4 separate regions of the Homo sapiens genome follow, and regions 1, 3 and 4 are each linked to region 2. Evidence: promoter capture Hi-C in 16 types of primary human blood cells and fetal thymus (Javierre and others, 2016). All regions are on one chromosome and are shown on one strand. Each heading gives the region's core, a stretch centred on a gene start or on the middle of the fragment in contact. The rest is flanking DNA. Distances are from core to core; before and after follow the strand shown. Region 1 has its middle 4.2 kb from the start of SFTPD. Region 2 holds the start of SFTPA2 (surfactant protein A2). Region 3 has its middle 27 kb from the start of SFTPD. Region 4 has its middle 54 kb from the start of SFTPD.

The links. Contacts are between HindIII fragments. The CHiCAGO score rates a contact against its expected background, and 5 or more counts as called.
Region 1: a contact is called between a fragment that was not itself captured here and the fragment with the promoter of SFTPA2 in region 2, in 4 of 17 cell types (M2 macrophages, megakaryocytes, endothelial precursors and 1 more). The highest score is 5.7, in M2 macrophages.
Region 3: a contact is called between a fragment that was not itself captured here and the fragment with the promoter of SFTPA2 in region 2, in 4 of 17 cell types (M2 macrophages, erythroblasts, M1 macrophages and 1 more). The highest score is 8.2, in M2 macrophages.
Region 4: a fragment that was not itself captured here is called in contact with the fragment with the promoter of SFTPA2 in region 2 in 5 of 17 cell types (M1 macrophages, erythroblasts, M0 macrophages and 2 more); the score reaches 9.6 in M1 macrophages.

Annotation. Positions count from the first base shown.
Region 1 is chr10:79,949,998-79,956,530 of GRCh38, reverse strand. It overlaps a transcript of SFTPD not described here. Among named protein-coding and RNA genes, the nearest start is that of SFTPD, 4.2 kb to the right of the region's middle. The HindIII fragment of the contact is 3,710 bases long and covers 1,021-4,730 here.
Region 2 is chr10:79,555,653-79,562,537 of GRCh38, reverse strand. It overlaps SFTPA2 (surfactant protein A2), which reads left to right and starts at 2,131. Exons shown (of 6, transcript NM_001098668.4): 1 at 2,131-2,174; 2 at 2,540-2,569; 3 at 3,032-3,226; 4 at 3,533-3,652; 5 at 4,409-4,486; 6 at 4,953-6,686. The coding sequence starts at 3,055. The coding sequence ends at 5,329. RefSeq lists enhancers at 1-450, 5,249-5,749. The HindIII fragment of the contact is 5,002 bases long and covers 110-5,111 here.
Region 3 is chr10:79,972,914-79,978,986 of GRCh38, reverse strand. It overlaps a transcript of SFTPD not described here. Among named protein-coding and RNA genes, the nearest start is that of SFTPD, 27 kb to the right of the region's middle. The HindIII fragment of the contact is 3,460 bases long and covers 2,354-5,813 here.
Region 4 is chr10:79,999,087-80,006,171 of GRCh38, reverse strand. No RefSeq gene overlaps it. Among named protein-coding and RNA genes, the nearest start is that of SFTPD, 54 kb to the right of the region's middle. The HindIII fragment of the contact is 3,135 bases long and covers 2,765-5,899 here.

The sequences.
Region 1 (6,533 bases), core at 1,626-4,125, 390 kb before region 2:
GTAGGCCCCTCCAAGCCAGGTGCGGGATATAATCTCCTGGTGTGCCATTTTTTAAGCCTGTTGGAAAAGCACAGTATTAGGGTGGGAGTGACCCGATTTTCCAGGTGCCATCTGTCACCCCTTTCTTTGACTAGGAAAGGGAACTCCCTGACCCCTTGTGCTCTTGAGTGAGGGAATGCCTCGCCCTGCTTTGGCTCGTGCATGGTGCGCTGCACCCACTGTCCTGCAACCACTCTCTGGCACTCCCTAGTGAGATGAACCCGGTACCTCAGATGGAAATGCAGAAATCACCCGTCTTCTGTGTCGCTCACACTGGGAGCTGTAGACTGGAGCTGTTCCTATTCGGCCATCTTGGCTCCATCCCCATTTTGGTGATTTTAAACTTTTTTCTCACAATGTTAACATTTTCACAATAAATATATAAATCATTTTCATATAAAATCAGATGGATTCTATAACGATTTTTTAAGTCATGCTTTTAGATGAAAATTCTGTTTTTTTGAAATTAGTATGGTTGTATCTCTTTACTTCCCGCCAACATTTGCTTCATATTTTTTTCTGCCTCTTTGTCTTTGACTCAGTTATCAATAGTAAGATTAAAAGACATGCTCTTTCTCAGTAGTTTCAAATGATGCAGGAGACAGAAGTAATACCAGTCAGGATGCAGTAGAGATGTTTCTCTTTAACCACTCCTTTCTCTAGTGAATAATAGAGCTACACAGTGAAGTGTTTTTCCTTTATTGTGTTAATATTTAAAGAAACAAAGAGTAAAGTGCCTAGAATTCTCATCCAAAAAGGTAGTTTCAAGCACTCTCACTTTGTCATTTTTATTAGGTTAGACATTCATAGAACCTGCATATGCATGTGAATTGGATTCAGCCCATTGACAATTGTTGCAGAATCTAGTGAACAGATTAGATTGCAACAACAGATAGCACCTGAGCATAAGCAATCCTACCTTTTCTGTGAGGTTGTGGTGGAGAGAGGGGGTGGAGGATTACAGGTTTAGACTATCAAGCTTCAAGATTTTGCAGAACATAAGGTATGGCAGGGTTTTCTTTGTTTGTTTGTTTGTTTGTTTTGTTTTGTTTTACTTCAGGATCCCTATATTTGTCTTTCTTTGCAACTTAGTTGCAAAGCAAGGTGGTAAATATTTTAAGATAAAACCTTACTCTTCAAAACATTATAATTATAGTCTCATGACACCAAGAAGATAGCAGCACAGAAGATCCCCAGCCTTCCTTCCTGCTCAGAAATACCAATTTAACAACTATTCATGGACAAAATGCCTTTATAAAACATTTGGGATCCAAGTAAAAGGTTCCAGCTCCTTGGTGTTGGGGTGATCAGACCCAACACCAGGCTGTGGGGGCTACGAAGTCTGGTGGAGTCAAAGGAATGAGAAAAGACAAGTTGAGAAATTGGCACCAGGGGACCACTGCTAGTATGGAGGCTGCGAAGGCCCCAAGCTCTGGAGGCCCAAGCTATTTATTGGTGATCAAACAAAGAAACAGGTGGTGAGGATGTGGGGGTTGAAAGGAAGTGGTGTATCAAGTGAATGAGCTATAGCTGTGATGGTTTAGCATTTTCTTTGAAGCATATGGCTACTTGAGATAATGGGAGTGCTAGAAGCAAGGAGCCAGCAAGTCTAGATACATTCCCAAGGCCACCAGGGGTTTTAGACTCTGCACTGTGGACTTGTTCCAAGCCCTGCCTTGGCTTCTCTCCCAACACTCAGCTTTTCTCCTAACACTTGGGGGACTTAAGACTGCAAAAAGCCTCATTGAGAAGGAAATCCTATTCCCTTATTAACAGACTTGTCCATCCAGGGCCCCAATAGAAGGCTAGTCAACAGAACTCAAACAGCTCCACCTCCTGCAAACTAGCAGTGACCATGCACACTAGCAGACCTGTTGGTGATCCTCTCCATCCACAAACTCCAAGGCAACCTGCCCACCTGCAGACCCCTACTGCAGCACCCACCACCCACCCACCACTACAACAATTAGCCAAATATACCTGCAGATACTGACAGCAGGCAGACCCCACCTGCAGACAATGGCAATAGGCCTGCTCAAATGTGTACCCCAGCAGCAGGTCCTCCATGTGCGGACACCTGCAGCAAGCACACACATGCAGCAAACCTACCCACAGATTTCAGCAATAGGCCCACCTGTGGTCACCAACAGCGGGTTGTCTGCTGACCCTATCAGCCAACCTACCCAGAATCTCTGATCTGGCTGCTTGTACAAATGCAGACTCACCAATGCAAGCATACAAGGATCATAAAGAATCAGGCAAACATGACACCATGAAATAAATCTAATAAAGCTCCAGTAACCAAACCAAAAGAAATGAACCAAACCAAACCACAATCTGCTCAACAGATAATTTCAGATAATCATCTTAAAGAAGCTCAACAAGATACAGGAGAACACAGAAAGGCAATGAAAAAATATCAGGAAAACAATACATAAACAAAATTAGAAGTATAACAAAGAAATAAAAACTATATAAAAAAAAAAACCCACAAAAATCCTGGAACTGAAGACCTCAAGGACTGAATTGAAAACTGAATAGAGCACTTCAACAGGAGATTCAATCAAGTGGAAGAAAGAATTAGCAAATTCATAGACAGGTCATTTGAAATTATCCAATCAGAGGAACAAAAAGAAAAAAAGAATAAAAAAGAGTAAAGAAAGCCTATGGGACTTATGGGACACGATGAAGCAAACCTTTCTGTGTATTATGGGTGTCCCAGAAGTAGAAGAGAGAGAAAAGGGGGTAGAATTTAAAGTAATTTAAAAAATTTAAAGAAATAGTAACTTTAAACTTCCCAAATTTAGGGAAGGAAACAGATATCTAGATTCATGAAGCCCAAAATTTCCCAAATAGGACAAACCCAAAGAGGTCTATACTGAACACATTATAATTAGTTTGTCCAAAGTCAAATACAAAGAAAAAAAATTGAAAGCAGCAGGAGAAAACTGACTTGTCACATAAAAGAGAACCTCCAAAAGACTATCACGAGATTTCTCAGTGGAAACCCTGCAGACCAGGAGAGAATGAAATGATATATTCAAAGTACTGAAAGAAAAAAAAAAAAAACCCACCTGTCAATCAGGAATTCTGTACCCAGCAATGTGTCTTTTATTAGTGAAGGAGAGATAAAAACTATCCCAGACAAACATATACTGAGGGAGTTTGTCACCACTAGGTCCACCTTGCAAGAAGTGCTAAAGGAAGTTCTCGAGGTTGAAATAAAAAGAGGTTAAACAGAAACACAAATGCACACAAAAGTATAAGTTTCACTGGTAAAAGTAATTATAAAGACAAGTAGAGTTTTCCTTTCCCCAAGATGGCTGTCTAGAGACATTGGACACCAGTTCTCCTCAGAACAAAGAACCAAAATTGCAGTTGAATAATCATGGTCTGAGTGGAATACTGAGGAATGAGTGACATGACCTATTGGGGAACCCACAGGAAAAAGCTGTGGTGCTGAAAAAGAAGACAGCAAGAGTTTTGCAGAGATTGACTTCCAAGGAACATAGAGTCCCATGGAGAGGGTAGGAGGGGAAGTTGCTCCCCTCACTCCTGTGGCAGACTATGGACTGCTGAACTTGTTGGAGAAACCCTCTGCACCTGTGAGCCCAGGCATTGCTGTCAGTGGCAATTTGGGAACTTCTTTAGGGCAGAGCATTGGGTGGCCAGCTCATGCAGGCACACTCGCTCTCCCCCAAAACCTGAGTTGAAGTGGCAGGTGTCATACTGGTTATGCACCCATTGTGGGTCTGTTCTTCCCAAGGAATCCCAGCCCTTGTGTTTCTGCATCACTAGATCCTCCATGAACATTCCCCAGAACCCACTTAGACTGCAGCAACCACAGGGGACGGGTGGGACCCTGGGGAGCTATGGAATTCCTAGAAGTCTAGCTCTTAGGAGAAGGGAGAGTGTCTGTGCCAACGTACTCCTTTGGATAAAAGAAACCAGTTCATTTGCTCTCCTCTGCCTAAGAGCTCCCCACGTGTGAGAAGAGGCTGGCTGTGCCCCTCCCAGCAGAGACACAGGCATGGTTCTGGGGTCTGAAGGGGAGGAGTGTGGTTCTGCACCAGTAGGCAGGTGACACTGGTGCCTGGGAATAAACATGGAAAGGGAGTCTTCTCCTACCCCCTCACTCAATGCTCCAGATAGACCGTTGGCTGTCCCTACTGGGAGCTGGCACAAGTGCACCTGGGGATGGCTTTTGAGGGCTCCTGGGGGCAGCTGCACTCCCATTGATGGGGTGCCTGCTGGCCAAGCCTTGCACGAAGGGCAGAGTTTATCCTCCTCCCCATATGGAGCAGCAGCATTCCCATAGCAGAATGCAGATGAATATCAGAGCTGCTGAGGGAAGAGGTTCTATCCCAAGGCCATTTTGGTGGTAGCCACAGGACGGGTGTTTTCTGCAGACCTCCATCACACTGCAGCCTGGAGATGAAGGACAATGTCTATCTGAACTGAAGGTCACAAGCTCCGGGACAAGGGTGTTTTAGGAAAGTGGATTGCCTTCCTGCCTTCCCAGGATGTGGAGCTGGTATACTCCTTCCCACTCTGGTGGAGACATCAGTGCCTTTCACCATGAGCTCCCATTTCCACTCCCATCAAGGCAGTTGCTTCTGCTCATAATTGGGGTTTCCCAGGGTGAGCTTGGTCGTTTAGTGCCCCTCAGTTTTGTGTCCCCCTCCAAAGCTTTGTGTTCCCTTCAGGGAATCAGGCCATCCACAGACCAGCCAACTGCCTGTGACAACAGAGATCCCCTCCCAGAAAACAAAGACCAAGTACCCATCAGCTTATGCCACAGCCAGCTTTTATTGGGATGCAGATTGAATTGCACAACCAAATAAAAAACAGGCTGACAGAGGGTATAGTGCTGGGGAATGAGATAAACTTTCAGAGACTTCCACATTCCCAGCCCCTCAGAAGGTAGTATTCCTGCTCATATGCCCAATACATTGCTACTACAATCAGCATAATAAAGCCACCACACAAAAGCTATCTATACAGCATAATAAAGCCACCACACAAAAGCTATCTATGACCAAGGAACTCATACAGAGCTGTGACCCACGGAAGGCACCCAAAATTGAAGCCAAATGATCACACACAACATACAGTCACACCTTCAAAGGGGGAAAAAATCCCATTCAAATGAGAGTAAGTTCAAAAGTAAGAAGTAACGGGTTCTCTAGATGAGAAGAAATCAGCATAAGCACTCTGGAAGTACGAAAAACCAGTATTTTGACATGCCCAAAGGATCACACCAGCTCCCTAGCAATGGATCCTAACCAATATAAAAATTTTGAAATAACAAATAAAGAATTTAAGATATGAGTTGTAAGGAAGCTCAATGAGATACAAGAGAAAGTTGAAAACTAACATAAGGAAATCAGAAAAATAATTCAGGATATTAATGAAAAATTTACAAAAGAGATAGAGATTAAAAAACAAAAACCAAATAGAACTTCTAGAAATAAAAATTTATTGAAGGAACTATAAAATATAGTTGAAACTTTTAGCAAAAGACTAGACCAAGCAGAAGAAATAATTTCAGAGCCTGAAGGCCAGTCATTTGAATTAACCTAGTCAGACAGAAATACAGAAAAAATAAATTTTTAAAAATGAACAAAGACTTTGAAAAATATAGAATTACATAAAGTTACCAAATATACAATATATAGACATTCCTGAGGGAGAAGAAAAAAAATTAAAAGCTTGGAAAACCTATTTGAGGGAATAATTCAGGAAAACTTCCCTGGTCTTGCTAGAGAATTAGACATCCAGATAGGAGATGCTCAGAGAACACCTGGAAGATGCTTTACAAGAGAAACCTCATAAAGGCATATCGTCATCAGACTATCCAAAGTCAATGTGAAGGAAAACATCCTAAAAGCAGCAAGAGAGAAATGTCTAATCTATACAGGAAAACCCAACAGACTAACAATGGACTTCTTAGCAGAAACCTTACAAGCCAGAAGAGATTGGGGTCTTATGTTTAATCTACTTAAACAAAAATCCTGCCAGCCAAGAATTTTGTATCCTGCTAAACTAAGCTGCATAAATGAAGGAGAAATAAAGTTTTTCCCATACAACAAATGCAAAGGGAATTTGTCACCACAAGACCAGCACTACAAGAAATGCTTAAAGTTCTAAACATGGAAATGAATGGACAATACTCCTCATCATAAAAGCACATTAAAGTGAAAAACTCACAGATTATATAAAGCAATTACATAATTGAGACTAAAAAGCAACTGGGTAACAATTATCATGACAGGAACAAAACATCACATATCAATATTAACCTTGATAATAAATGGAGTAAATGTTCCACTTAAAAGATACAGATTGGTGCTGGGTATGATGGCTTACACTTGTAATCTCAGAACTTCGGTAGGCTGAGGCAGGAGAATTGCTTGAGACCAGGAGTTTGAGACCAGCGTGGGCAACAGAGTGAGACCCCATCTCTGTAAAAAATTAAAAAGAGAAATTAGCCA
Region 2 (6,885 bases), core at 882-3,381:
TGGGGCCTGAGCAGGGGGAGGAGGCTGTGGACGCGGCAGAGTGGCCTGGCTTGGACACTCGGAACTCAGCAGGGACTGCAGCAATTCTTAGTGCTAAGAATGACAAGCTTGTGTTTCTTAACTACATTCTTTAGATTTGCTGGTGCCATGTGCTGGTAAACTGTACCTGTCTCAACATCAAACTCGGATAGTGTCCCTTGCAGCACGCAGGCGAGTGCATGGTTCCCCCTGGCGGTCGGTGGCAAGCCTCACTCACGAGTCCACATTGCTACAAATCAATCAAAGGGCAACAAAGAGCGTGATGAGGGATGGGATCTTTACAATAGTCCCAAAGTGCGTCCCCACAACATAGTCACTGATTAAAATCAGAAAAAGAATAAATTTGCAGTGGCAAATTGTGACACCCACCACCTTAATTAAATGATCAACACGAACATCATCAGTCTTGGGGCAAACTAAAGTCACATGCTGCCGGGTAGAATGGGAGAAGAGCGCAGCCGGGTGTCGATGGTATTTCTGCCGAAGTTACAGAACCTGAATCTAACTGTAAGGCAATACAAACAAACAAACAAACAAAGTGAGGGGTATTTTACACAGTAACTCCCCTGTGATCTTCACACTGTGTTCAGGTCATGAAGGTGAAGGGAAGACAGAGGGACTTTGTGGGTTTCAGGACCCTGGAGAAGCGTGACAACCGAATAAGGCACATGGCTCAGAAACGGATCCTTTGCTATAAAGGACACTATTGGGGCATTGTGTACATTTTGCATAGGGCCTGAAGGCTATTTGGAGTTATTGTATCCGTGTTTATTTCTTGATTACGGTTATAATGCAAAAATGCCTTTGCGTGAAAAACACATTAAAGTATTGGGGTGTTGGGGTTTCATGTTGACAACCTACTCTCATAGGTTCAGGGGAAAAAAAAGTCGTACGATACTGGCAATTTTTCTGTAATTTTGATGTTGTTTCAGAATAATAAAATGAAAAATGAAACTGACCAAGGCCACCTGGTTAATAAGTGACAGCTCTGGGTCAAAACTCAGGTGTGCCTTTCCCCTAAAGCCATGCCCTGCCCTGCCAACCACAAGGCCCTGCACATCCAAGTTGGCCTCTGTTCCTGCTCATCACCTGCAAAACAGCCCTGCCTCCCCACAGCCAAGTTGCTGGAGCTTCGCCCCACCTGCCCCCAACCTGCACTGGCCTGACTCCCCCATTCCACACCTGGCCCAGCACCCACCACATGGTGTGGCAGACAGCACTGGGGCAGCTGAAAGACTCCATGCTACAAATTGGCACTGCCCAGCTTCCTGCTCCTGGGAGTGGGGTCCGTTGTCTGAGCTTCCGCTCCCTGGAAGAGCTCCAAACTCCTCAATGGTTTGGGATTTTTCAAACCAATTCCAAATAAGCCAGGGGAGATTTTCCTGTCTGGGTTCCCATCATTACCACCTCCACAGTTGGAGATTCCCTCCTAATCCAGATGCTCAAACCAGGACCCTAACAACTAGGGCTTCATATATCACTGGGACACTTAGCATAATCACCATTGCAGGTTGCCAGACATCACCCAAAGTGATGTTCTACCAAAGACAGAAACTGCAGCTCTCCCATGACCTTCCAGGTGCTGCCCTGACTCCTCCAGCTGAACCTGCTAGGGCAGAGGGAAGTGGAACGTGCAGCATATTTGCCTGCCACTCTGTCCATGTGCCCACCAACTCGGCTGCAGGCTCCAGAGACACTGGCTGGGGGTCCTGGGGCTCAGAGCTGAGCAAGGTTACAGGGCAGACAGGTTGGCCTGGATCAACCTGACCAACCTCAGCTGAAGCAGTGACTTCTTCATTGTCTGAAACTAAACCAGGAACCCAGTGGAGCTCCCTGAGTGCAGAGTGGGTGACCTTAGCCAGTGAGGCATTTCTCTTCTTACAGACCTGGTATTTTTCTTTACCAGGTTCTGTGCTCCCCTCAAGGGTCCTAAGTATTCCTGCAGCCTGAGTGTTCTGCAGGGAAATGTGCTGTGTAAACACTATGCCTATTTCCTGCTTGGAGAACAGGTTTTGTGGTAGAGCTCTCAGGGGTGGGGAAGAAGCCTGGCAGCCCACATGCTATAAATTCTGTTGTCCACCTTTATGCTCTAACTTGGAGGCAGAGACCCAAGCAGCTGGAGGCTCTGTGTGTGGGTGAGTTTAGCCACATCCCCTAGGTGTTCTCCAGCTTGAGGATCGCAGGCAGAGAGGACCAGCCCAGCAGCCACAGGCCTGACCAAGGCCCAGGTTGGGAAGGAGGGCAACTCCCCATTTTCCACTGGGAGGTGTTTCACAGCATGGTCAACATGGATGACCTACAAAGACCCTCATGCTTTGATATCTTCCTTGGCCAGATCCATCCCTACCAGGGACTCAGCAGGGCCTAAGCAGGGGGAGTGGGAGAACAGACCCCAAGAGGAAGGAAGACCTCATCACTGACTGTGAGAGGGTCATCACCCCCCGATGATCACCTTGAAGGGTCCAGGCTGTGGGCCCTATTCATCTCTTTTCATTCTCAGGTCGCTGATTTCTTGGAGCCTGAAAAGAAGGTAACTGGGCATATGAGGGACAGATGGAGTGAGTCAGTGAGTGAGTGACCTCATCCTTCCTTCTAACAGCCTGGGAGGGACAGGGCAGGTTTTCTGCAGAGCATGGAAGATTCAGCTGAAATCAGAGAGGTGAAGCCAGTTTCCCAGGGTAACATAGTGAGGCACTGAAAGAAAGGAGACTGCACTGGAGCCCAGGTCCCTGGGCTCCCCAGAGCTCCTTACTCTTCCTCCTCCTCAGCAGTCTTGAGACCCCACAACCTCCAGCCGGAGGCCTGAAGCATGAGGCCATGCCAGGTGCCAGGTGATGCTTGGAATTTTCCCGGGTGCTTCGGGTCTTCCCAGCACTCTGGTCTCGCCCGCCCTGCCTCTCGGGCTCTGCCCAGCTTCCTGAGTCCTGACAGAGCACAGTGGGGGAGATGTTGGCAGAGGTGGCAGATGGGCTCACGGCCATCCCTCCGGCAGGAGCAGCGACTGGACCCAGAGCCATGTGGCTGTGCCCTCTGGCCCTCACCCTCATCTTGATGGCAGCCTCTGGTGCTGCGTGCGAAGTGAAGGACGTTTGTGTTGGAAGCCCTGGTATCCCCGGCACTCCTGGATCCCACGGCCTGCCAGGCAGGGACGGGAGAGATGGTGTCAAAGGAGACCCTGGCCCTCCAGGTACTGTGCTGCAGACCCCACCCTCAGCTGAGGGACACAGACCCCTTTTCAGGAGGCCCATCTGTCCAGGCCCCTAGGCTGTGGGCCATAGTGAGCTGGGGGCTATAGTAAGCTGGGTGGGACTTCAGTCTGCAGGGGTGGTGGGTTCCTGGGGCCCTTATGATGGCGCATCCTGGAGAGTCTGTCCTCATAGTGCCCACGGAGTGATAGCTGAGCCAGCCCCGGTGATAATGGGCATCGAGTCTCACTAGCTCCAACCAGTTGTGGGTGACAGATCCTACACATCCATGTCTCTTTTCTCTGCAGGCCCCATGGGTCCGCCTGGAGAAACACCATGTCCTCCTGGGAATAATGGGCTGCCTGGAGCCCCTGGTGTCCCTGGAGAGCGTGGAGAGAAGGGGGAGGCTGGCGAGAGAGGCCCTCCAGGTGAGCAGGGCGGGGCAGGTGGGCAGTGGAAACATGGGCACAGCGACCTGAAGTCAGTTACACAGGGGTGATGGGGGTCAGACAAACCCTGCAGGTTCCCCAAGGGCATTTGGCTCAACCTAAGTAAGAGAATATGAATTTGAGGGAGAAAGCCGAGGTGTCTGGGGAGTGTGGTCACAATTCAGAGAAGGGCAGGTGTGGGAAGTCCTCCGTGCCTCATGACCGCTGATGGGGACACACTGAGTCAGGTGTGGGACGAGGGACAGCACTGGGAGGCAGGGGAGGCATGTCCTGGGATGGAGGCCCTGGGGGCAGTCTGAAGGGTGAATGCGGACGAGGCATCCAGGCAGATGGTGTGATCAGGAGCCCCACAGACAGAGGGGAACTTTGAAGCTCAGAGCGGTAAGCAAGTCCATCAGGGCAGTGCAGAGAGCATCATGCTTGCCCTTGGTGGAGGGTGCGGGAGAGGGACTTGCCCCACAGAGGCGGGCAGACAGAACCCCTCGAGGGACAGAGCAGGAAAGAGGACAAGGGGTGGGGGTCTCAGCAGGGGCAAGGCTTCACTAAAGAATAGGGGACCACGGGGTGTGGAGACACACTGGAATCTCGTGGACCCTCTGAGCCTAGGGTCTGGGTGGTGCCTAACAGCAATGAAAGGGCAGAGTTCCAGGATTGCAGATGGCAAAACGCCTGCGTGGCAGCAAGTGGGAGTCTTCACTGGCCTGCCCCTCCTTCTGTGTGGGGCACTCTCCACAGGGCTTCCAGCTCATCTAGATGAGGAGCTCCAAGCCACACTCCACGACTTCAGACATCAAATCCTGCAGACAAGGGGAGGTAAGGGGACCCCCTGGGCCTCACGGGGTAGGAGTTTCCCACAAATTCCCCTCATTCTCAGCACCACCTTCTAGAATAGAGATGACAAACAAGCGTGCACATGCAGGTGTTGGGGAAAGGAATGATGCTTGCTTTTCTGATGTCTTTGAATGGCCAAGAGGAGACAAGCAGACACAATTCACTCCCCATTTCATAAGAAAGCAAGTTCTCTGCCTGTCTTGCTTTCCACTGAATCCTAGGAAATTGCACCATTTCTGGCAATAAGTAATTGTTACTTAGATGAATGAATAAATGGAGGAGAGTCTAAAAGTGAATTTAGAAAACTGCAATTGGAAGAGGAAGAGAAGACACAGAGAGAGGCAGAGATGGAGAGACTGGGGAGAATCTGGTAGCAGAGACCCTAGGTGAGGGAGGTGGCTTAGAGACAAAGTGGTCAGTGGCCTGACCTGGACTCCTCTGCTCTCAGCCCTCAGTCTGCAGGGCTCCATAATGACAGTAGGAGAGAAGGTCTTCTCCAGCAATGGGCAGTCCATCACTTTTGATGCCATTCAGGAGGCATGTGCCAGAGCAGGCGGCCGCATTGCTGTCCCAAGGAATCCAGAGGAAAATGAGGCCATTGCAAGCTTCGTGAAGAAGTACAACACATATGCCTATGTAGGCCTGACTGAGGGTCCCAGCCCTGGAGACTTCCGCTACTCAGATGGGACCCCTGTAAACTACACCAACTGGTACCGAGGGGAGCCTGCAGGTCGGGGAAAAGAGCAGTGTGTGGAGATGTACACAGATGGGCAGTGGAATGACAGGAACTGCCTGTACTCCCGACTGACCATCTGTGAGTTCTGAGAGGCATTTAGGCCATGGGACAGGGAGGATCCTGTCTGGCCTTCAGTTTCCATCCCCAGGATCCACTTGGTCTGTGAGATGCTAGAACTCCCTTTCAACAGAATTCACTTGTGGCTATTAGAGCTGGAGGCACCCTTAGCCACTTCATTCCCCTGATGGGCCCTGACTCTTCCCCATAATCACTGACCAGCCTTGACACTCCCCTTGCAAACCATCCCAGCACTGCACCCCAGGCAGCCACTCCTAGCCTTGGCCTTTGGCATGAGATGGAGGCCTCCTTATTCCCCATCTGGTCCAGTTCCTTCACTTACAGATGGCAGCAGTGAGGCCTTGGGGTAGAAGGATCCTCCAAAGTCACACAGAGTGCCTGCCTCCTGGTCCCCTCAGCTCTGCCTCTGCAGCCCACTGCCTGCCCAGTGCCATCAGGATGAGCAGTACCGGCCAAGCATAATGACAGAGAGAGGCAGATTTCAGGGAAGCCCTGACTGTGTGGAGCTAAGGACACAGTGGAGATTCTCTGGCACTCTGAGGTCTCTGTGGCAGGCCTGGTCAGGCTCTCCAGGTGGTCAGAGGGCCCAGTGGTGCCCCAGCACGGTGGTGCCCAAGCCAACCCTGTGACTGACATGTACGATTCACTCCTTTGAGTCTTTGGATGCCAACTCAGCCCCCTGACCTGGAGGCAGCCGGCCAAGGCCTCTAGGGAAGAGCCCCCCACTGCAGACATGACCCGAGTAACTTTCTGCTGATGAACAAATCTGCACCCCACTTCAGACCTCGGTGGGCATTCACACCACCCCCCATGCCACCGGCTCCACTTTCCCCTTTTATTAATACATTCACCCAGATAATCATTAAAATTAACATGTGCCAGGTCTTAGGATGTGTCTTGGGGTGGGCACAGTACCCGGTGACTCTTGGGGATATTTATTTATTTTCCCTGAGCCTATATCTTCATCTGTGAAATGGGGATAAAAATACTTGTTGCTGTCACAATTATTACCATCTCTCCAGCTAGCAAAATTACTACCAGAGCCGTTACTACACACAAAGGCTATTGACCGAGCACATACCATGTGCCACACACCTTGACAAAATCTTTTAATACAGTTTATTATGTACTATTCAATCTTTACACAATGTCACGGGACCAGTATTGTTTACCCAATTTTTTATAAGGACACTGAAGCTTAGAGGAGTGAAATGTTTTGAGTGTTATTTCAGAGAGCAAATGGCAAAGACTGGATCCAAACCCATCTTCCTGGACCTGAAGTTCATGCTCCCAGCCACCCCACCCCTGAGCTGAATAAAGATGATTTAAGCATAATAAATCGTTAGTGTGTTCACATGAGTTTCCATAGCTTTGGTTCCAAGAAACATCACATTTCTGTTTTTGTAAATGAAATGAACTCTGGCTCTGAGCCCCCACTTTCCTCAAGATTGGAAAATTCAATCTCAGGATGTGCTTTCTTTGTTTGATGGGAGGGGCAACCTGCTCTCCTCGCTATGATGCTGCTGGAGGTTGGGGAGCTACAGACACCATTTGGAAGAACACATGG
Region 3 (6,073 bases), core at 2,834-5,333, 410 kb before region 2:
TTTATTCTAACAGTTTTTTGGTGGAGTCTTTAGGGTTTAAATATAAGATAATGTAATCTGCAGACAGACAATTTTACTTCTTTCTTTCTTTCTTTCTTTCATTTGGGTGCCTTTTCTTTCTTTTTATTGCCTAATTGAGCTGGCTAGGATTTCCAGTATTTTGATAAATAGAAGTAACAAGAGTGTACATCCTTGTCTTGTTTCTAATCTTCAAGGAAAACATTTTAGAATTTCACCATTGAGAATGATGTTACCTGTAGATTTGTCATATAAGGCCTTTATTTTGTTGAGGTACATTCATTCTATACCTTTTTTTTTTTTTTTTTTTTTTTTTTGAGACAGGGTGTCACTCTGCTGCCCAGGCTAGAGTGCAGTGGCACAATCTTGACTCACTGCAGCCTCAACCTCCCAGGCACAAGTGATCCTCCCACCTCAGCCTCCCAAGTAGCTGAGACTACAGGCATGTGCCACCACACCTGGCTAATTTTTGTAATTTTTGTAGAGATGGGGTTTCATCATGTTGCCCATGCTGGTGTTGAACTCCTGAACTCAAGTGATCCACCCACGTTGGCCTCCCAAAGTGCTAGGATTACAGGCATGAGCCACTGCACCCAGCATATGCCTAATTTGTTGTGATGAATGTAATATCTCTTATGATGAAAGAATGTTTAATTTTATCAAATACTTTTTCTGCATCTATTGAGATGATCACATGGATATTTCCTTCACACTATTGTTGTGATGTATTACATTTGTTGATTTGCATGTGTTGAACCATCCTTGCACCCCTATGTTAGGTCCCATAGATTATACCAAACAGCATTGCATCTTGGACAGATGGTAACTAATCTACTGTAACTACAAATTATGGCAAAGCTATATCATCTGATAAAAACCAAAAGGCAAAAAATGGGACATCCTCCTTTTCACTTTAAAGAAAAGGTAAACAGACTGCAAGTGGTTAGGCTCACCTGTTCTTGAGTGCTACTGTCAGGGTAAGTCAAGAAATTCTTGAACTCAGACAAAGATTGCACTGCTTAATAAGCTGGGAGAAGGGTGGTGCTGGAGAACAGGTTAAATGAAAGATGTGAGGTATCATGCAAGATCTCTTTACTGAAAAATAAAACTTTCCTCAAAATTGAAGATAATGAAAGAAAGAGAGGAAGAAAGAAAGGTGGAAAAGAAAGGAAAAAAAAGAAGTAAATCTGAAGACCTACTTCATGTATAAATGGAAAAAAATCTGTAACAACTCCTTAGTAGGCTGTGGATATCACATCTGTGTTGTAAAGCAATGACTGGATGAAAATTGCTACATTTAAATAATTCCAGCTGGCAAGAGGGCTCTTTCACCACAGATACCTGAAAAACACAAGTTCCTTATATTACCATGAGGACAAGAAAAACTAGCCAGATTGATTTGTAAATGAGACTGATTACCTGTGAAACTAGATACATCAAATAGATTACAATGTTGCTTTGTGCATGTGTGAGCACTGTGTGTGTGTATGTGTGTGTTGTTGTTGTTTGTTTATGATTGAGTATCAGAAAAGCTGCTTGCTTGAACTAAATGAAACATTATGAGTATTAATAGAAGTAATGTCCTGTGGAACTCTAGGATTCTTCACAGCTAGTAGGTTGCTCTCTGGCCTCAGGTTTCAGCTGGGGCTTGTTTGTGAGCAGAGCACCAATACAGTGAGTCCTGTGGTTGGGAGGGATTCCACAGGGTAAAAAGATCTTGATTGAGGGTCACTAATTGCAGAGACTTTTGCTAAAGAATAAATCCTTGGCACCCAGCCAGGAACTAAGCTGAGTTTGGCTCCAGAGGTGAAATGGCCACGTCTCACACCTATAGTTTCTTCCCCACTGTATTAGTCTGTTTTCATGCTGCTGATAAAGACATATGCAAGACTGGGAAGAAAAAGAGGCTTAATTGGATTTACAGTTCCACGTGTCTGGGGAGGCCTCAGAATTATGGTGGGAGGAGAAAGGCACTTCTTACATGGCTGCCATCAAGAGAAAATGAGGAAGAAGGAAAAGCAGAAACCCTTGATAAATCCACCAGATCTCATGAGACTTATACACTATCATGAGAAAACCATGGGAAAGACCAGCCCTCATGATTCAATTACCTCCTCCTGGGTCCCTCCCACAACATGTGGGAATTCTGGGAGATACAATTCAACTTGAGATTTGGGTGGGGACACAGCCAAACCATATCACCCACTCTGAGAGGATGGTTGCCAGGCAGCACCCAATGACCCATGCCACTTGAACTAGAAGTGGCCTGCTAGTCCCATAACTTGGTTTTGAAGACTTCTTGTCCCCAGTTCTCAGAAGGGGGAGGTGGAAAGCTTCATTATGCTCTTGTTGAATCCTCAGGGTTTTTCCCTTTAGGTGCAGATGGCTTTACTGAGAAAAGCCCTTTTTTTCCAGCCTGGACTTGGACTCTGGCAGCAGTGGCAGTGGTGGTGCCATCACTCTTCTGGCACCAGACTTCCTTCAACAGCCATTTTATCACTCACCCTCCCAAACTCTGTGGTTTCCCAGAGCAGTAGATATGATTGACTCAGTAGCCAGGGACTTCTGGGAGCATGCAGATGTGTTTTTGCACAGGCTGTCAGGTGATGGGATAGGATCCACTGTGCAAGCCTGGATCTCAGGCTTCTTTGGGCTGGCTGACCAGGACCACAAAACCAGCTGAACTCCAGCTTTCAGCACCATTTATTGCCTTTGGCAATTCAAGTTTCCCCAAATCTTAAAGTCCTCATGCTACTGGAGTCACTCTTTCCTTTCAGAACCAAAGGCCATCACTTTGATTCTTTTGCCAAAAGAGAAACTTGTTTTTCTTAAGGCCACTGTATCCAGAACTCTTGTTTCACAAGGTATAGCCCACCACTTCTGTGTTGGGAACAGGCCCCCCAAAATCTGGCCATAAACTGGCCCCAAAACTGGCCATAAACAAAATCTCTGCAGCACTGTAACATGTTCATGATAACCATAACACCCACGCTGGAAGGTTGTGGGTTTACTGGAATGAGGGCAAGGAACACCTGGCCCACCCAGGGTGGAAAACCGCTTAAAGGCATTCTTAAGCCACAAACAATAGCATGAGCAATCTGTGCTTTAAGGGCATGTTCCTGCTGCAGATGACTAGCCAGACCCACCTCTTTATTTGGGCCCATGCCTTCCTTTCCCATAAAGGATACTTTTAGTTAATCGAATATCTATACAAACAATGCTAATGACTGGCTTGCTGTTAATAAATACGTGGTTAAATCTCTGTTCAGGGCTCTCAGCTCTGAAGGCTGTGAGACCCCTGATTTCCCACTTTACAATTCTGTTTCTGTGTGTGTGGGTTTAATTCCTCTAGTGCCGCTGGGTTAGGGTCTCCCCGACTGAGCTGGTCTCAGCAAGTGGTGTCCATCATGGGGACTCAAATCCAGGTCGAAGGGTCGCCGGAGCAACAGTTGGAGAATGTGGAACTAAGCTGGAGGACACCTGAGTACTCTTAAAGCAATCCCCGTGGTGAGTAAGAAGGGGAGCTTGGAAGCATCAGGGTAACAATGGGACAAGTGTGGGGTCTGGTTCATTCCACCTAGGAACTTTTTCACACTGATGAGGAGGAGGAAGGAGAGTATAACAAAGTAACAGAAGAGGTTACAGAGCAGTTTTATTTACCAGCTGAAGCTAAAGTGGCAAAGGAGGGAGAGGTTCATCCCTACCCTTCTGCACCCCCTCCTTATTATTTTGAAGAAAATGACCTTCCAGATCTTTCTTTTCCGGAGGACACTGGGCAAAAAGTAGTTGCCCCAGTGACTGTTCGAGCAGCACCTAGAGCGACTGCTCTTAGTTCTAGTCAGGCAGGAATTCAGCAAGCTAGATGAGAGAGTGATTTAGAGGCTTGGTGATTCCCTGTTGGAATACACCCCCCCAGATCAACAGGGAAATATTATAGCTACATTTGAGCCCTTTCCTTTTAAATTACTCAGAGTAGCCAGATCCACCCCTTTATTTCGGCCCATCCCTTTGTTTCCCATAAGGGATACTTTTAGTTAATCGAATGTCTATAGAAACAATGCTAATTAATGCTCTGAAGGCTGTGAGACCCCTGATTTCCCACTTTACACCTCTATATTTCTGTGTGTGTATGTTTAATTCCTCTAGCACTGCTGGGTTAGAGGTCTCCCTGACCGAGCTGGTCTCGGCATTTCTGCCAAAGAAAAGACTCCTCCTCTTTCAACATTAGCTGTAGGCACATCTGTATATATACAAACAAGAATAGAAGGGTGTGATGAGGAGAGGTGACGGGATTGTTGAAGTAGATATAGACACAGAGAGATACACTTTATATGCATTTAGAGATAGATGGAGAGGTATATATACATAGAGATATATTTTGTATGTATCTTAAAATTGGCCAATATCAGATTTTTTTAATGAACCAGAGAACTATGATCACATCACTCTTGAAAATATAGGCATGACTAGAAATACTAGACTGTCTCATCTCTGATGGCATATAAAAAATATCTGGGGGTGGCTGGGTGTGGTGGCTCACACCTGTAATCCCAAAACTTTGGGAGGCTGAGGCGGGCAGATCATGAGGTCAGGAGATCGAGAAACCCCGTCTCTACTAAAAATACAAAAAAAAATTAGCTGGGCGTGGTGGCAGGTGCCTGTAGTCCCAGCTACTCGGGAGGCGGAGGCAGGAGAATGGCGTCAACTCAGGAGGCAGAGCTTGCAGTGAGCCGAGATCGTGCCACTGCACTGCAGCCTGGGCAACAGCGCAAGACTCTGTCTCAGAAAAAAAATAAATAAATAAAAATAAAAAATATCTGGGGGTATAATTGAGAATAAAACAACTAACGGCATAGTCCTAATGCTGTCAAATAAATTTTTCAGCTTATTTAAGGGGAATCTGTGATGCTACTATTTGTGTGTGTGTGGGTGTGTGTCTGTCTGTCTGTGAAACACACAGAGATCCTAATTTCACAGTTAACGTAATCAGCATTATGTGGAAAAGTATCCTCTACTTGGAGTAATCCACCAGTAAAAAATGAGTTTAGAATTTTCTGGCACTTGTGCTCTGCATACACAAACCAAAGAAACCCTTTGGCATAATGCATCCAGAGTCATCCCAAGAAGTTCACTGCATGACACTGTGGTGTTATTCCAGACTGGCACCTTTGTAGATGCAAGCTATGAACTAGAGCTGGGTACCCTGTCCTTGCTCTCACATGTATATATGAAAGGAGACAATGCAAAGGACTAATGGAATTGTAAAAAAGATGGGACAGAGGGTATATTGATAAAATAACACAAGGAAATTAACATTTCGTTTTCTAAGACTTTTTTTTTTTTTTTTTTTTGAGACAGAGTCTTGCTCTGTCGCCTAGGCTGGAGTGCAGTGGCGGGATCCCGGCTCACTGCAAATTCTCCCTCCCAGGTTCAAGCAGTTCTCCTGCCTAAGCCTCCTGAGTAGCTGGGATTACAGGCACCCATCACTGCGCCTGGCTAATTTTTGTATTTTTAGTAGAGATGGGGTTTCACCATGTTGGCCAGGCTGGTCTTGAACTCCTGACATTGTGATTCACCTGCCTCGGCCTCCCAAAGTGCTGGGATTACAGATGTAAGCCACTGCGCCTGGCCTTCAAAGATATTTTTAATGTACCAGTGGAAACTCCCCTACAGCTTGAAGATCCATGATGTATCCTTGGAAGTTACAAAAATAGAAAAGAAAAAACACAAATGAAGAAACACAACCAAGAGGCTTGAACTTGATGTACAATTTATTTATAATAAAAAGGGAAGCTTCATGATATGCATGTTAATACTAACAAAAATGCTAACAAAGTGGGAATATTAATGTTCATAGACTTTGTTTAATGATTTCATGGAGGGGCTATTGTAACTTTTACTGTCATTTTCTTTCTGTTTCAATGTTTAAAGGGAAACTCACACATGATAACAGCTCAGTATTATGGATGGATATAAGCTCATTGAGTCAATCCTTGAGAGATGGAGAGTGAAGTAACTTCCAGTTCCCATTTGGAACTCTCAGAGCTAGGATAAA
Region 4 (7,085 bases), core at 3,083-5,582, 440 kb before region 2:
TTACAGGCATGAGCCACCATGCCCAGCCAGCATTGAACACCTTTAAGTCTTGTTATGTGGATGGTAGAATGTGAGTGAGAAGGTGGGTGAGGTCCTGGGTCCTGTTGGGTTTTTGTTCAAGGCTGAAGAGACTTGAAGAGGCTCCGTACCCAGACCTGGAGGTTCAAGGCATTTGTACTCTCCTGGGAGGCCCTGGCAGATCAGTAAGCCATTCTGCGGCTCCAGGATTCATCCTGCACTGAGTGGTTTTGTAGCAGGAGCGGAAAGGTGTCCCACAGTGAGCACCCGGTGGAGGTCAAAGTTCCTTCTGAGGCTTGGGATCTCCAGCGTCCTGCATCCCTTCCAGAAAGACCTCTGTACCCTCTCGGAAGACCCCCAGGCCCCCAAGCCTGCCCCATCTTTCTCTGAACTCGGGTCTGAGAAACATGAAAGGAAGAGTCAAGGAGAAGTTTGCCCTTCTTGCAGACCAGTCCTGGTCCAGTTTTTGTCAGTTTTGAAGAAGCACATGGTGACCATGTGGGGACTTTGCCTCTGGAACTGAAATCACTCTTTAGCCTCTGGAGGGGAAATTGTGGATTCAGTAAGTAGTGGCATAGTCATTTTTTTAAAAATTGGGATATAATTTGTATACTATAAAATTTGCCATTTTAAATGCTATATATTTAAATTACTATACAATTCAACATCTTTAAGTATATTCTAAAGGTTGTACAATCATTACCACTATCTAAACTCAGAACATATTCTTTACTCCAAAAATAAATCCTGTACCTATTAGCAGCCACTCCACATCCACATTCCTCTCCTTCCCTGGCAACAGCACTCAAGCCATCCTCCCTGGCTTTCTTTCATGTTCTGTAGAGACAAGGTCTTGCTATGTTGCCCAGACTGGTCTCGAACTCCTGGACTCAAGATATCCCTCTGCCTTGACCTCCCAAAGTGTGGGGATTACAGGCATGGGCTACTGTACCCGGCCTTGGACATTTCATATAAATGGAATGACACAATATGTGGCCTTTTGTTTTTGGCTTCATTCACTTAGCTTGCTATTTTCAATGGTCATCCATATTGTATTGTACTTTATTCCTTTTTAAAAATTTTTAATTATACTTTAAGTTCTGGGACACATGTGCAGGACCTGCAGGTTTGTTACATAGGTATACATGTGCCATGGTTGTTTGCTGCACCCATCAACCCGTCATCTGTATTAGGTATTTCTCCTGATGCTATCCCTCCCCATGTCAACCTCCCCCAATGTACTTTATTCCTTTTAATGTTCTTTTTGTTCATCCATTCCTCAGTTGATGAATATTTGGGTTATTTTCACCTTTTGGCTATTATGAATAATGCTACTATGAAGACTAGTGTACAAGCTTTTGTGTCATCATAGGTTTACAGTTTGCTTTTTTTTTTTTTTTTTTGAGACAGAGTCTTGCTCTATCTTGCCCAGGCTGGAGTGCAGTGATGTGATCTCGGCTCATTGCAGCCTCAGCCTCCCGGGTTCAAGCGATTCTCCTGCCTCAGCCTCCTGAGTAGCTGGGATTACAGGCGCCTGGCACAACACCTGGCTAATTTTGTATTTTTAATAGAAATGAGATTTCACCATGTTGGCCAGGCTGGTCTCGAACTCCTGACCTCAGGTGATCTGCCCGCCTCAGCCTCCCAAAGTGCTGGGATTACAGGCATGAGCCACCATGCCCAGCTTGTTTAGTTTTCTTAGGTATGTATCTACTAGGGGAAGTGCTGGGTTATACGGTAACTTTATATTTAACCTTTTTGAGGAACTCAAAATTGTTTTCCACCTTCAGCTTCACCATTCTATATTCTCACCAGAGATGTATAAGCACTTCAGTTTCTTTATATCCTTGCCAACACATTGTTTTAAAAAAAACTTATAGTCACTCTAGTGAGTGGTGCCATGGTGTCATTTGTGGGTTTTTTTTTTTTTGTTTTTTTTTTGAGATGGGGTCTTGCTGTGTTAGCCAGGTTAGTCTTGAACTCCTGACCTCAAGCAATCCTCCTGCCTCGGCTAGGAATACAAGTGTGAGCCACTGTGCCAGGCCTCATTTTGTGGTTTTGGTGTGCATTTTCTTAGTGTTTAATGATGTTGACTATCTTTTAATGTGCTTATTGGCTTTTGTGTTTCTTATTTCCAGAAAAAATTTTCATTTTGACCATTTTAATTTAATTAATTAATTAATTTAGACAGAGTCTCGCTCTGTTGCCCAGGCTGGAGTGCAGTGACACAAACTCGGCTCACTGCAACCTCCACCTCCTGGTTCAAATGACTCTCATGTCTTGGCCTCCCAAATAGCTGGGATTACAGGCATGTGCCACCATGCCCAGCTAATTTTTGTATTTTTTTAGTAGAGACAGGGTTTCACCATGTTGGCCAGGCTGGTCTCAAACTCCTGACCTCAAGTGATCCACCCACCTCAGCCTCCCAAAATGCTGGGATTACACACGCATGAGCCACTGGGTCTGGCCTGTCATTTTGCCCATTTTTAAATTGCGCTGTTTGTGTTTTCATTGTTGAGTTTTAACCATTCTTTGTATATTCTGCATATTAAATCCATAACAGATAAATGATTTATCAATATTTTCTCCCGTACCATGTGATGACTTTTAACTTTCTTGACAGTGTTCTTTGATGCACAATAGTTTTTAATTCTGATGAAGCCAATTTATCTAGTTTTTGTTTCGTTACTTCTGCTTTAGGTATCATGTCTAAGAAACTGTTGCCTAATCTAAGGTCAGGTAAGCTTACTTCTGATGGTTTCATAGTTTTGACTTGTATGCTTAGGCCTTCCTTCCCTTTTGAATTAATTTTTGTATGTAACTTGAGATAGATATTCAACTTCATTCTTTTCCTTGTGGATAGCCAGTTGTTCTAATACCTTTTCTTGTAAAGACTATACTTTTCCCATTGAATTTGTCTTGGCATTGGTGTTGAACTCAATGGATCATAGATGTATGGGTTTATTTCTGGACTCTAAATTCTATTCAGCTGATTTATAAGTTTTGTCTTATGTCAGTACCACACTTTCTTTCTTTCTTTCTTTTTTTTTTTTTTTTTTTTTTTGAGACAGAGTCTCGCTGTGTCACCCAAGCTGGAGTGCAGTGGCACAATCTTGGCTCACTGCAACCTCCACCTCCCGGGTTCAAGCCATTCTCCTGCCTCAGCCTCCTGCATACCTGGGACTACAGGCCCCTGCCACCACACCTGGCTAATTTTTTGTATTTTTTTTAGTAGAGACGGGGTTTCACTGTGTTAGCGAGGATGGTCTCGATCTCCTGACCTCGTGATCTGCCCGCCTCGGCCTCCCAAAGTGCTGGGATTAGAAGCGTGAGCCATGCGCCCAGCCCACACTTTCTTGATTGTTATATCTTTGTAGTAAGTTTTGAATTTGGGAAGCGTAAGTCCTCCAATATTGTACTTCTTTTTCGAGATTAATTTGGCTATTCTGGGTCCATTGCATTTCTAAATGAATCTTAGGTTCAGCTTGTAAATTTCTGCAAAAAGGCTGTTGAAATTTTGATAGGAAGTGAATTGAATCTGTTGATCTCTTTTGGGAGTATTAGTTGATCTCTTTTTGGGAGTTTAAGTCTTCCAATCCATAAACATGGGATATTTCTCCATTTATTTAGATCTTTTATATTTTCTTTTAATAACATTTTGAAGTTTTCAGTGTGCATATGTTGAATCTTTTTGTTAAATATATTTCTAAGTATTTTATTCTTTTTGATGATATTGTGTATAGGTTTATTTTATTTTCATTTTTGAATTGTTCATTGCCAGTATACAGAAATAAAACTGATTGTTTATTTCTTTTTTTAAAATAGAGACAGGGTTTCACCATGTTGCCCAGGCTGGTCTCAAACTCCTGGACTCAAGCAATCTGCCCACCCGGGCCTCCCAAAATGCTGGGATTACAGGAGTCAGCTGCCACACCTGGCCTGATTTTTAAAATTTTTGATCTTGCATTCTACAACCTCATTTACTTGCTATAACAGTCTTTAGATTCCTTTGGATTTTCTCTATGAGAGGTCATGTCATCTGAAAATTTTCACTTTTTCCTTTCCAATATAACACCTTTACTTTCATATTCTTGCCCAATTGCAGTTAGCAATTTTGCTTCTCTTACATCAGCTAGGTTCTGGTAAAATCCCTGTTGGGAAGGCTCTGGTGAAATAGGTTCTTTCGAGGGCATCCCTTAAGAAGAAGAGAATGCTCTGAGCATATTTCATAATGTCTACTTTTCCTCTCATCCTACATAAAGCACAAGGAGAATTTTCTCTGATCTTTACTTTGAGAACCTGGTAGGACTCTTGGGACTAAAGCCAACAAAGGCTGGACTATCCTGGCATTTTTAACTCTCAAGCCTGGCCATACTGTGCTTCCAGCAACTCTTGATTGCAGTGCAGCTTTTCCTATTCTGCCAATGGTTTCTGCTAGTCAGTTTCTGCTCCTTGTTTTGATTCTCTGCATCTTCCTGTCTGTCTTCAATTTAAAGGGCAGCAGTTTGCCTGTGACCTCACTTCTCTCATAAATCTAGGAAGAGTTATTGATTTTCAGTTTAACTGGTTTTTTTTTTATGTTTTGTGGATGGGAGTGATGACCTCCAAGCATCTTACATGCCAGATCAGAAACTGGAAATCCAATAAATATATTATGGCAACATTTAAAAAACTAAAAATTTGTGCAAAAATTCACGATGAACAAGATATCGAAGTTTTAAATAATATCAGGATCTAACTCTAACTTGCACAAGTGAAGCCACTTCACTGGTAAATCATATCCTGGCACTGTTTTTCATAAAACTTTATTTATAAACAACAAATATCCATTGTGTTGGCTATAGTTTGTCAATTTCATTCTTTATAAACTGTTAGATTAAAATACTTTTTATCTTCATTACTGGGTCTCTTTCTGCATTCCAGGTGAGTTTTCACTTGCCTTACCTAGTTCTGGACCTTCCCTCTGATTCCATTTCATACAAAAGTCAGCCCTACAATGGCTTCATGGCCCTTTATTTTTATTTATTTATTTTATTTTTATTATTATTTTTGAGATGAAGTCTTGCTCTGTTGCCCAGGCTGGAGTGCAGTGACGCTATCTCAGCTCACTGCAACTCTGTTCCCGGGTTCGAGTGATTCTCCTGCCTCAGCCTCCCCAGTAGCTGGGATTACAGGCACGTGCCAGTAGGCCAAGCTAATTTTTGTATTTTTAGTAGAGATGGCTTTTTGCCATGTCAGTCAGGCTGAGGTTGAACTCCCGACCTCAGGTGATCCACCACCTCGGCCTCCCAAGGTGCTGGGATTTCAGGCATGAGCCACCATGCTTGGCCCCATGGCCCTTCATGATTTGACCTCCATCTACTCTGTAACCTCGCTTCCTCCTTCCCTGCATGCACTCGCTCTACTCCACTCATAGTCTCTGCCTTGCTATTTCTATTTCTGGGGCATGCCTATCTTGCTCAGGGCTTTTACGTCAGTGCTTGACACTTTGGGCCTGATCCATACCTATTCATTCTAATTAATCCAGTCAACAAATATTCATTGTGTGCTTACTTTTGTAAGGCATTATTTTAGGCTCTGAGACAATATCAGTAAACAAGATAGACAAAATCCAACAATCTCTGGAGCTTTCAATTTAGTGTGTTTGGGAAGGGGTGAGAGGGTCAGAAAGTAATCATAAGTGAAATAGAAATTATTACTGAGAAAATATAGCATTGTGAAAAAAGGAAATAAAATAAGGGGGATTAGGAATTTTTGGAGAATTGCAGCTTTAAATAGGTAGATGAAAGTAAGCCTATCTGAAAAGGCCACCTGGCAAAGGCTGAGAGGGGGATGAAGGAGTGATTCAAGGGATATGGGGATCATGAGAGGTCAGGAAGCTTTGCAGGCAGAGGTTGGAATGCCTTGAGGTGAGAGGGAGCCTGAGATGTTTAAGAAAAAGCAAGGAGGCCAATACCACTAGATGGTGCCTATGTGAGGCGGAGGGGTGGACAGTAGAAAATGATGTCAGAGAGGAAAGGCAGGAGGAGTACAGGTTAGATAAGACATGTAGGCTATTGAAAATAAACTTTATTGAAATATAGTGCACATACCCAAAAGACCATGTATCATACATAGTCAGTTTAATAAATTGTCACAAAACAACCAAACTCATGGAACAAACATTCAGATAAAGAAAGATAATATTACCTGACTTCAGGAGCCTACTTTTGGTTCCCTTTAAGGCACTGATACCCTTCCCCCAGTAGCTCATATCCTTACTTTTAACCACAGCATAGCTGGGCATGGTGGCTCACGCCTGTAATCCCAGCACTTTGGGAGGCCGAGGCGGGTGGATCACTTGAGGTCAGGAGTTCAAGACCAGGCTGGCCAACATGGTAAAACCCAGTCTCTACTAAAAACACACAAAAAATTTAGCTGTGCATGGCAGCACATGCCTGTAATCCCAGCTACTGGGGAAGCTGAGGCAGGAGAATCGCTTAAACTCGGGAGGCGGAGGTTGCAGTGAGCCGAGATTGTGCCACTGCACTCCAGCCTGGGTGACAGAGTAAGACTCCATCTCAAAATAAAATAAAATAAATTAACCACAGCAAAGATTAGTTTTGTCTGTTTTATATAAAATATTAATGGAATTATACAGTATTCTCATTTATTTACTCCTAATTTTAAAGATAAATTCTGTAATCCAGGGCTTGGCAAACTTTCCCTACAAACAACAAAAAGTAAACATTTTGGGCATTGGGCAAAGTGGAGTTTCAAGTACTCAGCTCTGTCATTTCGGCTTAAAAGCAGCCATAGACAATAGGTAAATAAATGGGTGTGGCTAGTGTCCCAAGAAAATTATTTATAAAAACTGAAACTGGCTGGATAGGGCCCATTTGTAATAGTTTGCCAACCCCTGCTTCCATTTGTAATATTATTATTGTGAATGGCTGTGAGGCCCTAATTCTACACTATAAACAGGTAGTCAGTTGTACCAACATTGTTGTGATTAATCATTTTCTCTCTGAATACTACCAGTACTCTTTTTTTCTTTTCTTTTTTTTAAATAGAAATGGAGTCTCACT